Linked DNA regions of Homo sapiens: region 1 is linked to region 2. Evidence: promoter capture Hi-C in 16 types of primary human blood cells and fetal thymus (Javierre and others, 2016). All regions are on one chromosome and are shown on one strand. The core of a region is centred on a gene start or on the middle of the fragment in contact, and the rest is flanking DNA. Distances in the headings are between cores, read along the strand shown.

Evidence for each region. The method cuts DNA at HindIII sites, captures the fragments that hold promoters and counts their contacts. A CHiCAGO score of 5 or more calls a contact.
Region 1: a contact is called between the fragment with the promoter of YTHDC1 here and the fragment with the promoter of UTP3 in region 2, in 3 of 17 cell types (naive CD8 T cells, total B cells and total CD8 T cells). The highest score is 10.1, in naive CD8 T cells.

The regions. Positions count from the first base shown.
Region 1 is chr4:68,348,754-68,355,692 of GRCh38, forward strand. YTHDC1 (YTH N6-methyladenosine RNA binding protein C1) reads right to left here and starts at 1,337. Exons shown (of 17, transcript NM_001031732.4): 1 at 973-1,337. The coding sequence starts at 1,000. RefSeq lists an enhancer at 706-1,285. The HindIII fragment of the contact is 7,711 bases long and covers 1-4,228 here.
Region 2 is chr4:70,682,772-70,689,781 of GRCh38, forward strand. It overlaps UTP3 (UTP3 small subunit processome component), which reads left to right and starts at 5,761. Exons shown (of 1, transcript NM_020368.3): 1 at 5,761-7,010. The coding sequence starts at 5,907. It overlaps LOC101927297 (a long non-coding RNA gene), which reads left to right. Exons shown (of 4, transcript XR_938860.3): 4 at 3,836-4,045. RefSeq lists enhancers at 4,686-5,656, 5,037-5,126, 5,657-6,625, 5,827-5,886. The HindIII fragment of the contact is 6,672 bases long and covers 664-7,010 here.

The sequences.
Region 1 (6,939 bases), core at 87-2,586, 2.3 Mb before region 2:
ACCCCAAATCAATTAGGCACACAGAAGAGATGTGTGAGACACAGAGCAGCGACCGTGTCATATTTTTAACTATAATCTTTCCAAGACTATTATGTTAATCTTAGGGTTGAAAAAGATCTTAAAGCAGCATTTAATCTAGACCACTCTCCAGAGAGACACTGATCTAGGACCTACATTAATATCTCTAGGGCTTGGGAACTTAGTATTACTATCTTTCCATTACAGCAACGTCAGTTCTCTCTACATTTCACTGAAATTTATCCCTCCAACTCTCTGTAACTTGCATTCATTTGTTTCTGACTGTACCCTCTGGGAGCTACACACGGTTTTTCTAACATAATAGCACCCAGGATTTCTTTGCCAGCCTAAGTCACACAGTCATCTTTCCAAACTAAGTATTCCTTTTTCCAAGTACTATGTTTTTCCAAAATAAGTATTCGAGGAACAAAACGGGTAATTCACTTTGCCTATTTAACAGGAACAGCCAGAAGTTATTTGCAGATATTTCTCAAGATTAATAACCTGCCAGTGCCACTTCCTAAACTTGCTCACTTACCACACCACCAGTGTTGATCGCGGCATTAGGGGTTTTCAAATTTTAGCCTAACAGAAATGGTTGTCCTGAAAATACGCGTTACATCCGCATGATCCTACCAGGAAATAAACCTAGGAGCTTGCAACTCAGAAAGGGCCCCTCTCAGCCCAAGACAGCTAAACGGAAAGTCAAGCGTGAAATCCGCATCAAAGAAAAACCCTACTGAGATGAAGTGCTAGGCCATATGGAGACTGAGGACGAAAGGGCAGGCCTGGTCTCCGCCAGAGTCTAAGTGTCTCGGTGGGGGCCACCGGCTCCTCGCGAGGCCAGCTAACCTCCCCAACCCCCACCCCCCACCCCCAACGACGACCACTGCTCCATCACCCCACTCCCGGGCCCCAGCCTCGCCTCGGCCCGTCATCTTTCTCCGCACTAACCTTTCTCCTCCCGACTGTCAGCCGCCATGGCTCCCCTTCGGTTTCCGCCGCTGCCACCGCCGCCGCCGCTTAGACGCGACTCGCGCGGGCGCCGCAGCCGCGGCAGAAGCACGGGCCCGTCCGTCAGTCCGTCTGCCCGGATACGCGCGTCGCACTTGGCCTCTTAACACTCAGCCTTCTCGACTCTTCCCGCTTTTTCCCTTTCTCCCTTCCTTTCACTCCAGCATCCAGCGGCCTAGGCCCAGCCTTCTCGTTAGGGCTCAGACTCGGGCTAGGTATGGGGGAGGGAAGGGAAACAGATGGCGACGGCGGGCGGCGCTAAAATGGAGCCTGCTTCCTGCGCGAAACAATCCCGCTCCCGAAATGCCCTGCGCTGTTTACGCTTCGTTCCTCTCTGGGAACGTCACAGTGCGGAGAGGGGCGGGGAGGCGGGGACGTGCAAAGGAACGTGACGTGACGTCAGCGCGTCGCCCTGCCGCCCTCAGCCCACTGGTACCTGGAAGGAGTCTTATTCAGGGATTAGGTTACCCAGGTTGTTCATGGAGTTCCCGCTGTACGGCCTATAACTGGATGGCGCAATTTTCCCACCTGAAACTCTTAGTGCAGGGCCTAACAGGCCTTCTTAGCTAGAGTCGCTCTAAAGGACTCCTGATTCAGTTCGGGTAATCGGAGTCTTATTTAGGACAAGTCTGGGTGAATCCCTTATGTTTACCAGATGTACTTTCTTAGTTGGAGTTCCACTCTTACCCAAAGGCAGTGCAGCATGCAACCAGCTTGTTTGTAGTCACAAAAGCCTGCTAGTTTTTGTTTGTTTTGAGACGGAGTCTCGCTCTGTCGCTAGGTTGGAGTGCAGCAGCGCGATCTCGGCTCACCGCAACCTCCGCCTCCCAGGTTCAAGCGATTCTCCTGGCTCTGCCTCCTGAGTAGCTGGGACTACAGGCGCCCGCCACCACGCCCAGTTAATTTTTTTATTTTTAGTAGAGACGGGATTTCACCATGTTGGCCAGGATGAAGTGCTGGGATTACAGGCGTGAGCTACCACGCCCGGCCTAGTTTTGTTTTTAATTGGGGAAAGAATTGTATCATAATAGGTCTTTGTAATTAATAACTAATTTAAACATGTTATCAAGGCCCTGGGGCACAAAATTGATTTAAGCAGACCATCGAGGAATCGAAACTACAGAATAAATGACCAGTAGATACATAACTACATAGTGTGGTAAAATCTGCAAGAGAAACTTGCTTAAGATTCATTGTCCAACGGAAACAATCTAATTTTGCTTCCTTGAACTATAACTGAGTTATAAGGGAAAGAAAAATCTGAAAAAGGTAACTAAGTAACTTCGTGATATGAAGACAAACTGGCAAACTAACTGCATATTCAGGGAAAGACAAGTAGTCTAGAAGTCTAGAATGTGGTACCTCTTTTTTTTTGAGACGTGGTCTCACTGTGACACAGGCTGGAGTGCAGTGGTGTGATCATGGCTCACTGCAACCTTGGGCTCAAGTGATCCTCCCACCTTAACCTCCCAGGTAGCTGGAACTACAGGCATGCTCCACCACATCCGACACATTTTTTGCATTTTTTGTGGAGATATACCATCTCCGCAAGATGGCTAACACCTAGCCATCTTGCCCAGGCTAGTGTCTAAATCCTGGGCTCCAGCAATCCTCCCACCTCGGCCTCCCAAAGTGCGGGATTACAGGTGTGAAGCCACCAGGAGTGGCCCCATTTCTAGGACCTTAATTGAACACTAATTTGAATATACGAACACGCACACGCCACAAACACACACACACACACACATTAAATAATATCTGATGATCCTGAGGAATTGCTATTTGTATTTTTAGTTTTAATAAGTTTTGCTTTTTAAAGAATTTCTTATAATTTCATGATTCATATGAAAATATTTGCAGGCCAGATGCAGTGGCTCATACCTGTAATCCCAGCACTTCGGGAGGCCCAGGCGGGCGGATCACCTGTGGTCAGGAGTTTGAGACCAGCCTGACCAATATGGTGAAACCCCGTCTCTGCTAAAAATACAAAAATTAGCCAGGCATGATGGCATGCGCCTGTAGTCCCAGCTACTCGGGAGGCTAAGGCAGAATTGCTTGAACCCGGGAGGCGGAGGTTGCAGTGAGCTGAGATTGTGCCACTTTCACCCCAACCAGGACAACAGAGCTAGACTCTGTCTCAAAATAATAATAAGAATAGTAATAAATATTTGCAAATGAAATTATATGGTATCTGGGATTTATCAAACTGGTGGCAGGTGTAGCGAAATGGGTAGGAGAATAGATTAAACAAGTCTACCCATGAGTTAACAATTGTTGAAGCTGGGCGATACATATGTGAAAGGAAAATCTCCCCAACATCACTAAGCCAAAGGAAGAAGTCAAGCTGGTGATTGATGTCTCATGTATCCCTAAAATGTATAAAATGAAGCTGTGCACGACCACCTTGGGCACATGTCATCAGGACAGCTTGAGGCTGTCATGGGCTCTTTCTTAACCTTGGCAAAATAAACTTTCTAAATTGATTGAGACCTGCCTCAGATACCTTTTGATTTCCACATACATTAGTTAATATTATACTCTCTTCTCTACTTTTTTGCATATTTGAGTTTCCTTTAATAATTTTTTGTAAAGAAGAGCATAAGAAAACAGCCAAGTAATTTAGAAGATATCAAAATGCCATTTTCCCTGATTCTACATTTGTCCTATTAGAACTAAGGAGTAATTTTTAATGTAAATAGAATTCCATATTTGCATCTTTGTTATTAAAATAAGTTTATGGGGCCAGCTGCAGTGGCACATGCCTGTAATTCCAGCCCTTTGGGAGGCCAAGGCAGGTGGATCACTTGGGCTCAGGAGTTTTAAGACCAGCTTGGGCAACCTGGCGAAACCACATCTCTGCAGAAAATAAAATAAAAAATAGCTGGTCATGGTGGTGCACACCTGTAGTCCCAACTTCTCTGGGGGCCAAAGTGGGAGGATTGCTTGAGCCGGCGAGGTCAAGGCTGCAGTGAGACATGATTACGCCTCTGCACTCCAGCCTGGGCAACAGAGCTGGACCCTGTCTCAAAAAATAAAATGAAGTAAGTTTATGTTAAACTAAGAGCACAGCTGTAAAAAAATGCGGTTTTTAATTCAGTCATGTTAGTAAATAGGAAAAGTTGTTGAGGTTATAAAGGATGAACTCTAGGTATGTTGAACATTGGTCTGAAGCTATTGTGTAGTGATTAAGAGAGTAAGCTTTGCAGTCATAATGACGTGGGTACAAATTCCAGCTCTGTCTCTCAATAGCATGAGACCTTAGAGAAATTAACTTCTAATCTTTAGTATCTTAATAAATGGGAATTTAGAAATAATTTCCAAAGGATTGCTATAATGTTTCAAATGATTTTTTTAAAGGCAGTTAAGTGATCAATAAGCTGGAGCTATTGTTATTTTTATTGTTTCTGTAGTTCAGGAAAGATGGATTGTTCTAACAATTATTGTTGGTGAACTTAACCAGAAAATGTAGTATTGAGTGACTCAGATTTTTGGCCTAGCTATGGGTGGAAATAACTTTCTGGGTAAAGATGCTGAACTAAAAACTTGCAGCCAAAAATCCTCTTCAGACCTCAGGGATCATCACAATATAATTGTAAAAATATAACAATGAACATGGAAGTACAGATATCTCTTTTGAGAGCCTGATTTCAATTGTTTTGGATATATACACAGAAATAGAATTGCTGGATCATATGGTAGTTCTATATTTGAGGAACTTCCATACTCTTTTTTTTTTTTATATAGTCGCTGCACCGTTTTACATTCCTGCTATGGTGTATAAGTATTCCAATTTCTCCGTATCCTTGCCAAAACCTGGTATCTTTTGAAACAACTTATACGTCTGTTGAAAGATGAATGGGTTAAAAAACATATGGTTTATACATTCAATTGAATACTATTCAGTCTTAAAAAAGAAGAAAATCGGCCAGTCACAGTGGCTTATGCCTGTAATCTCGGCACTTTGGGAGGCCAAGGCAAGCCGATCACTAGACGCCAGGAGTTGGAGATCAGCTTGGCATACATGGCGAAACCCCATCACTACTAAAAATACAAAAGTTAGCCTGGCATGGTAGCTCGCACCTGTAATCCCAGCTACTCAGGAGGCTGACAGGACAATCGGTTGAGCCTGGGAGGCAGAGGTTGTAGTGACCCGAGATCGCACCACTGCACTCCAGCCTAGGCCGCAGAGGAGAGACTGTGTCTCAAATAAAAATAAAAATAAAAATAAAAAAAGGAAATCTTGCTGTATGTAACAACATGAATGACCCTGGAGGATGTTCTGCTAAGTGAAATAAATCAGTCGGAGAAGGACAAATACTGTACTGCATGATTCCACTTCTATGAAGTATCTAAAATATTCACATTCACGGAAACAGTAAGATGGTTGTTGCCAGGGACTAGGGGGAAAGGGAAATGGGGAGTTGCTGTTCAACAGGTATAAAGTTTTATTTCTGCAAGACAAATAAGTTATAGAGAGCTGCTGTACAATGTTGTGCCTGCTGTTAATGATACTGTATTCTGCACTTAACATTTTGTTGAGGGTAGATTTCATGTTCAAGGTTCTTACTGCAATAAAATTTTTTTTAAAAAACCTCAATAATTACCAAAAAATTATTTCAATATGTAGTAAAAAGAAATATAATGCTTCTGAAGGCAGTTCCTTTTGTACTGATGATAACGAATTGTGAATTGAGATGAGTGGAATTTAGCAATAAAAAGTGTCAAGAGCATTGGGCAATATTGATGTCAATTCTACCTAATTTCATCTATAGATTTGGAACAATCCCAATCAAAACCTCAGTGCTTTTTAACAGAAATTCACAATATTGAGTTTCTTGTTAATTGAAATTTACAAGGAAAGGTAATGGATATAGGATATCGAAAACAATTTTGGAAAACAACAACAATTTTGGAGGACTAGCATTACCTGATTTCAGGGCTTACTACAAACTTATGGTATCAAGATAGTGTGGTATTTATGTAAAGTAAGACAAATACATCAATAGATCAGAACACAGTGTCCAAAAGTAGAGTCACAGATATTATGGTCAATTGAATTTGACAAAGGTACCAACATAATTGAAATGTGTAGAAGGATAGCCTTTTCGACAAATAGTGTTGAGGCAATTAGATATACATATGGAAATAAATGACCGTGACCCCTACCTTACATAATACACAAAAATTAATTCAAAATGGATGATAGGTCTAAATATAAAAGTTGTTTTAAAACTTCTAGAAGAAAACATGGGAGAAAATTTTTACCACCTTGGAGTAGGAAAAGATTTCTCATATAAAATAATCACAAGTCCTAACATTTTTAAAAATTAATACAATTGCAGCTCAAAAAATTAAAATGTTATGGTCTTTAAAAGATGCTAAATGAATAAGTAAGTGAATAAGGCACATTACAGACTAGGAGAAAATAGTTACAAAACATTTGTCCAACAAAAGACTCGTAGGATATATACAGAGAGAGGACTTGCTACTCAGTAAAAAGACAAATATCCCAATTTGAAAAAATAGACAAAAGACTTCATCATAGAAGATGTGTTGAACAGGCAATTATCACATCATTGTCATCATGAAATATCACTTCAATCCCACTGGAATGGCTAAAATTAATAAGATTGGAAATAGCAAGTGTCGCACAGGCATGGTGGCTCACACCTGTAATCCTAGCACTTTGGGAGGCTGAGGCGGGAAGATTGTTTGGGCTTGGAGTTTGAGACCAGCCTGGGCAACATAGTGAGACATCTCTACAAAAAATTTTAAAAATTAGCAGGGCATGGTAGCACATGCCTGTAGTCCCAGCTATTTGGGAGGCTGAAGTGGGAAGAACTCTTGAGCCTGGGGAGGAGAGGGCTGCAGTGAGCCCTGATTACACCACTGCACTCCATCCTGGGT
Region 2 (7,010 bases), core at 4,511-7,010:
CAGTGGCGCGATCTCAGCTCACTGCAACCTCCACCTCCTGGGTTCAAGCGATTCTCCTGCCTCAGCCTCCCGAGTAGCTGGGACTAGAGGTGTGCACCACCACGCCCAGCTAATTTTTGTATTTTTAGTAGAGACAGGGTTTCACCACGTTAGCCAGGCTGGTCTCAAACTCCTGACCTCAGACAATCTGCCCACCTCAGCCTCCCAAAGTGCTGAGATTACAGGTGAAAGCCACCACGCTGAGACTCAACTATTGTCTTAAGTTCATGAAAGCTATATATTAAATATTTCACCTTGTTAATTACTTTTAAATTTGAAGAGCTATGCTGATAACTATGGAAGCTCAAAAGACACTACGTTGTTAAAGGCTACTGCTTTGAAGTGCTGACAGAGTACAGAAACATACATACCTGGACTGACTGACTGCATTTCCACTACCTTCTCACACCCCACTCCAGCCAAGAAAGATTACTATTTAATCTAGTGTCTATCTTGGAAACCATAATCTTTGGAGTCTGAACTTGGCTATGGATGCTAAAGGAAAAAGTCACTGTCCACCTAACAACAAAAATCAGGTACAATTACACATAATTGATAGAGAGGAAGTTTGAGATCTATGCAGGACTGTGGTGATGAAGCATATGAATTTGATCCTATAGACCAAGCTTGTCCAACCCACAGCCTGCAGGCCATATGCAGCCCAGGAGAGCTTTGAATGCACCCCAACACAACTCTGGAAAGTTTCTTAAAAGATTGTAAGTTCTTTTGCGATTTTTTTTTTTTTTTTTTGAGATGGAGTCTAGCTCTGTCACCGAGGCTGGAGTGCAGTGCCGCGATCTTGGCTCACTGCAACCTCTGCCTCCCGGGTTCAAGCGATTTTCCTGCCTCAGCCCCCCGAGTAGTTGGGATTACAGGCGTGTGCCACCACGCTTGGCTAATTTTTGTATTTTTAGTACAGATGGAATTTCACCATGTTGGCCAGGCTGGTCTTGAACTCCTGACCTCAGGTGATCTGCCCACCTCAGCCTCCCAAAGTGCTGGGATTATAGGTTTGAGCTTCCGTGCCCAGCCAGCTATTGTTAGTGTTAGTGTATTTTATGTGTGGCACAAGACGATTCTTCTTCCAGTGTGGCCCAGGGAAACCAAAAGATTAGACACCCCTGCTATAGACATTGGGAAGCTAAAAGATTGGACACCCCTGCTATATAGACGTTGGGACGCTTCTGCAGGATTTTAAGTTAGGAATTGATATAGTCATTTTTTGTTTGCTCATTTGTTTTTTAATTAAATCTCAGGTGCAGTTAATTATTCTCCTCAGTTCCTGACATTATTATTGGTCTGTGGAAATGTCCTCTTCTATTCCTTTTAATCTCCAACCCTTATCCCATTCTTCATCTTCCACAAACAGCTATTCTTTTGTGTTTAATGTATATTATTTTGTTTGATTATATTCCTACAAAATGTGTATTGTTACATTATTGTGCCTGCATTTTTAATTTTTGTGAATGGTATATTATTTATTACATTCTATTTTTTACTTTTTTCCCTTAGCACATTGTTTTAAAAATCCATTCATGTTGCCATATGGATATATAATCTACTGCTTCCAATTACTATATAGTTAAAATCACTATAAAATGTATCATCTTAGCCAGGCATGGTGGCTCAAGCCTGTAATCCCAGCACTTTGGGAGGACAAGGGGTGGATCACCTGAGGTCAGTAGTTCGAGACCAGCCTGGCCAACATGGTGAAACCCCGTCTCTACTAAAAATACAAAAATCAGCCAGGCGTGGTGGCAGGCACCTGTAATACCAGCTACTCGGGAGGCTGAGGTGGGAGAATTTCTTGACTCTGGGAGGCGGAGGTTGCAGTGAGCTGAGATCGCACCATTGCACTCCAGCCTGGGTGACAACAGTGAAACTCTGTCTCAAAAAAAAAAATTATCATCTTAATCATGAGAGTGAAAGGAGGTGCTATTAATAATTACACTGGGATAACAGGTTAAACAGGGCCATCCAGGGCAAGCCAGAATGTATGATCACCCTATGCTCCTAAATTCCATGCTGTTCTTCCACAACATTTTATTGATCTGCTCTTCCAGTGACGGATATCCAGGTTGTCTCTAACTCGCTGCTACCAAAAATAACTTTTCAAATAGCTTCGCACAGGTCCCCTTATGGATGGGCTTATGTGAGAATTTCTTAACCAAAAAGATATCTGCAATGATTTATAAATTTCTGATACAGGTAATTCTGAACACCCAGAAGATTGGTAAAGTGACAAATGAGAATAAAGCATAGTAGAGTACTTAGCTTAGCATTGAAGGTTTTTGTAGTAATGAAAGGTATGACTGGAAAGGTTGTTTTGGGGTAAAACTTTAGGACAGCCATGTATGCTGTAAATTTTGTTAGTAAACGAAAGTTTTTACTATCTGGATAGTAAATGAAAGTTTCTGAACCAGGATATGCGGTGACAGAAATGATATTCTAGGAAGATATATCTGATGTACCAGATCAAATGTACCAGAGACTAAAAGGAGGAGACCTATTAAAGGAAAAGTTGAAAGCCAGTATAGTATAGTAGTTAGTTATAGCACAACATGGATTCTGAAGCTGGACTGTTCTAGTTTAAATCTAGTTCTAACACTTATTAGCTTTATGACCTCACTTAAGCTATATGCGCCTAATTTTCTCATCTCCAATTACAGATTATTATAGTAACTTTTCACAGGGTTATAATGGTTTCAAGAGCTTGTAATGGTATCTAGCACACAATAACCACTCTCAATGTTAGCTATTATTAATTATAATTGTTTCAATAGTCCAGGAAGAAATAAAGATTAGTTTAAGCTAATGTGATCATACAATACCTCCAACACCCAGAATAAATGCCCTGAAAGAAGTATCCTAATGTATCATCACCTAATGTGTCATTCATAGACTCCCTAATTTCCATAGTAAGAAAATCCCATAAAGGGCTTAGAGTAAGGCAAAAACAATTTTTTTTTAACCTGCTGGCTCTCATTAGTGTAACTTGCTAACTCCTGAGCCAGACATCACAATAAAATAAAGATTCAGATTGGCTGGGTGCGATGGCTCACACCTGCAATCCCAGCACTTTGGGAGGCTGAGGTGGGCAGATCACCTGAGGTCAGGAGTTTGAGACCAGCCTGGCTAACATGGTGAAACCCCATCTCTACTAAAAAAAAAAAAAAAAAAAACACACAAAAAAATTACCCAGGTGTGGTGGCAGGTGCCTGTAATCCCAGCTACGTGGGAGGCTGAGGCAGGAGAATCAATTGTTCTTTATCAAAAGGATCTGAAAAACTGGGTGAAGCGGCACGCACCTTTAGTCCCAGCTACTCAGGAGGCTGAGGCAGGAGATCACTTAAGCCCAGGAGTTCTACCCAGCCTGGGGAACACAGCAGGCACCTGTCTCTAAAAACAAAGGATCTGAGAATGTTAGAATACGATACTCTCTGAATATGCATTGAATACTGCAACTCTGTTCTGGTTAGGAAATTTAACATTTAGTATAAACTAAATAATATTAATGTGATCATTCCCATTTAAAATATCCAAAATATTTTTCTAACTTATATATAATAGTATATGCATTTTAGTCTTGAAGTCTGACACTAAATTCTCAAATAATTTGCAATAAAAATGAAAAATTTTTATTTATGTGCCTAAATGCAACAGTGTTTAAATAATGAAAATTTAACATTTAAAGTAAGGAAATAACTACAATTCCAGCATAGATGTCATATTCTTTAAGCAATATTCCCAAAACAGCAATCTAAAGGTTATCTCTTATCCTTCTGTTCTCTTACAGCACCGGGTTTACATCATACACTGCCTTGTATTCCAGTAATCTGTATGAGTGTCTTCTTTTCTACCTGATTATACAGTCCTTAACTGGCTGATTCATCACTATTGTCTGTAGCATTCTACAACAAACAGTAAGCAGTTAATATCTGCTAAATGACAAAATGTACTAAAATTTACATTAAAAAATAAATTCATGCTTACCATCAGAACATAACTTTTGCCCACAACTTTCTAATTTAATTTTATTTTCTAAAATCTTGTAAAAATTTCAAAATGTTTCGGACACCTTTAGGCACTTGGAAAATGTTTATTTCAAAGTATCACTTTTCTAACATTTTGCATTATTTTTATTAACCTAATGACACTATACTTTCTGAAAAGAAATTGTCACCATTGGCTGGGCGCGGTGACTCACGCCTGTAATCAATCCCAGCACTTTGGGAGGCCGAGGCGGGCGTATCACGAGGTCAGGAGATGGAGACCATCCTGGCCAACATGATGAAACCCCGTCTCTACTAAAAATACAAAAATTAGCTGGGAGTGGTGGCGCGTGCCTGTAATGCCAGCTACTCGGGAGGCTGAGGGAGGAGAATCACTTGAACCAGGGGGTCGGAGGTTGCAGTGGGCCGAGATTGCCACTGCACTCCAGCCTGGCAACAGAGCGAGCCTCCGTCTCAAAAAAAAAAAAAGAAAAAAAGAAAAAGAAAAAAGAAACAAAAAACAAAAGAAAAAGAAATTGTCACCATTAATTTTATTTTATTTATTTATTTATTTATTTTGAGACAGAGTCTCTGTCTGTCGCCCAGGCTAGAGTGCAGTGGTGCGATATCGGCTTACTGCCACCTCCGCCTCCCGGGTTCAAGTGATTCTCCTGCCTCAACCTCCCGAGTAGCTGGGATTACAGGTACCCGCCACCACGCCCCGCTAATTTTTTGTATTTGTAGTAGAGACTGGGTTTCCCCATGTTGGCCAGGCTGGTTTTGCACTCCTGACCTCAAGTGATCCACCCACTTCGGCCTCCCAAAGTGCTTAGGATTATGGGCATGAGCCACCGCGCCCAGCCATGTCACCATTAATTTTAGCAACGTATCAAAAGTTCAGCTTCCAACTACCTACATTAAAAGGTATAATAATACTAACCCTGAACCTTACATATGTAATGCCTAAAAACTTACACCCTGAATTACTCTAACATTACAGGGCAGACTTCCTTGAGAAGAGTCAGACCCTGCAGCGGGGCTCTGCCTTCCCACTGTCAGCCTCGGGGTCATCTAGCTTTATCGATCCCCATGGAGCGGGTCACCGAGCCCTGTGAGCAGGGAGAGGGCGATGGGGATGAGTAAACCCGAGCCGGAGGCCCGGCCTGCGCTCTCGCCCGGAAACCTCCCGTGGGATTCTGGAGTCCAGCGGCGCTGCCTGAGGCTGTGGTACCCAGAAATATGGTATTGGGGGTGGGGGTGAAATGAGAGGAAAGCAATCTGATTAACTTCCAGCCTGATAAGCAGAAAAGAGAAAACAAGGGAGCAGGAAAACTACGCTAGCACTAGACTGCCGGTCGCAAGCGCCGGGTACACACGCAGTTAAACCTCAATGGAACGCCCCCGGGACTTCTCCGGGGCGTAAAGCGCAGCGCCCTCTATTGGCCATCGGGACCTCGCCTGGAGGTGCCGTCAGGATTCCGTCCCCCAGCCACTCCCAGGCACTCGAGAGTAAGCGCATTAGCCCGAGAAAGCGTTCTGTGGAACGGAACTTCCTTATCCTATCGTTTCCACACGGAAAGATTTTAATTCACCGGAATCGACTGGCGTTAAAGGGCACAGTGAAAAGGAAGTTGGTATCAACGTGATCTCGACTAAGGGACCGAGCGGAAGTCCTCAATCGTACGCCACGCGGAGAGCATGCTGGGGGCCGGAAGGAAGAGGAAATTCCAGTAGCCGATCAGGAGTCTGCAAACTCCGGTGGTAGGGGAGCGCGCTGCTGTTTAGAGCCACGAGTTACCGGAGCGCCTGATTCCTGCGCCGAAGTCAGTGGTGGCCGAAAGTCCGGAGTCGCTGTAAAACCTGAGATTGTGAGCCATGGTGGGGAGATCCCGGCGGCGCGGAGCAGCTAAGTGGGCAGCTGTGCGAGCCAAGGCAGGTCCCACGCTCACCGACGAAAATGGAGATGATTTAGGATTGCCACCCTCACCAGGGGACACCAGCTACTACCAAGATCAGGTAGATGACTTTCATGAGGCACGATCCCGGGCCGCCTTAGCTAAGGGCTGGAATGAAGTACAGAGTGGAGACGAGGAGGATGGCGAGGAGGAGGAGGAGGAGGTGCTAGCCCTAGATATGGACGATGAGGACGACGAAGATGGAGGGAATGCGGGGGAGGAGGAGGAGGAGGAGAATGCCGATGATGATGGTGGGAGCTCCGTGCAAAGTGAAGCTGAGGCCTCTGTGGATCCCAGTTTGTCGTGGGGTCAGAGGAAAAAACTTTACTATGACACGGACTATGGTTCCAAGTCCCGAGGCCGGCAGAGTCAACAGGAGGCAGAGGAGGAGGAAAGAGAGGAGGAGGAGGAGGCACAGATCATTCAGCGGCGCCTAGCCCAAGCGCTGCAAGAGGATGATTTTGGTGTCGCCTGGGTTGAGGCCTTTGCAAAACCAGTGCCTCAGGTAGATGAGGCTGAGACACGGGTCGTGAAGGATTTGGCTAAAGTTTCAGTGAAAGAGAAGCTGAAAATGTTGCGAAAGGAATCACCAGAACTCTTGGAGCTGATAGAAGACCTGAAAGTCAAGTTGACAGAGGTTAAGGATGAGCTGGAGCCATTGTTAGAGTTGGTGGAACAAGGGATCATTCCACCCGGAAAAGGAAGCCAATACTTGAGGACCAAGTACAACCTCTACTTGAATTATTGCTCGAACATCAGTTTTTATTTGATCCTGAAAGCTAGGAGAGTCCCAGCACATGGACATCCTGTCATAGAAAGGCTTGTTACCTACCGAAATTTGATCAACAAGCTGTCCGTTGTGGATCAGAAGCTGTCCTCAGAAATTCGTCATCTGTTGACACTTAAGGATGATGCTGTAAAGAAAGAACTGATTCCAAAAGCAAAATCCACCAAGCCCAAACCAAAGTCTGTTTCAAAGACTTCTGCTGCTGCCTGTGCTGTTACAGATCTTTCTGATGATTCT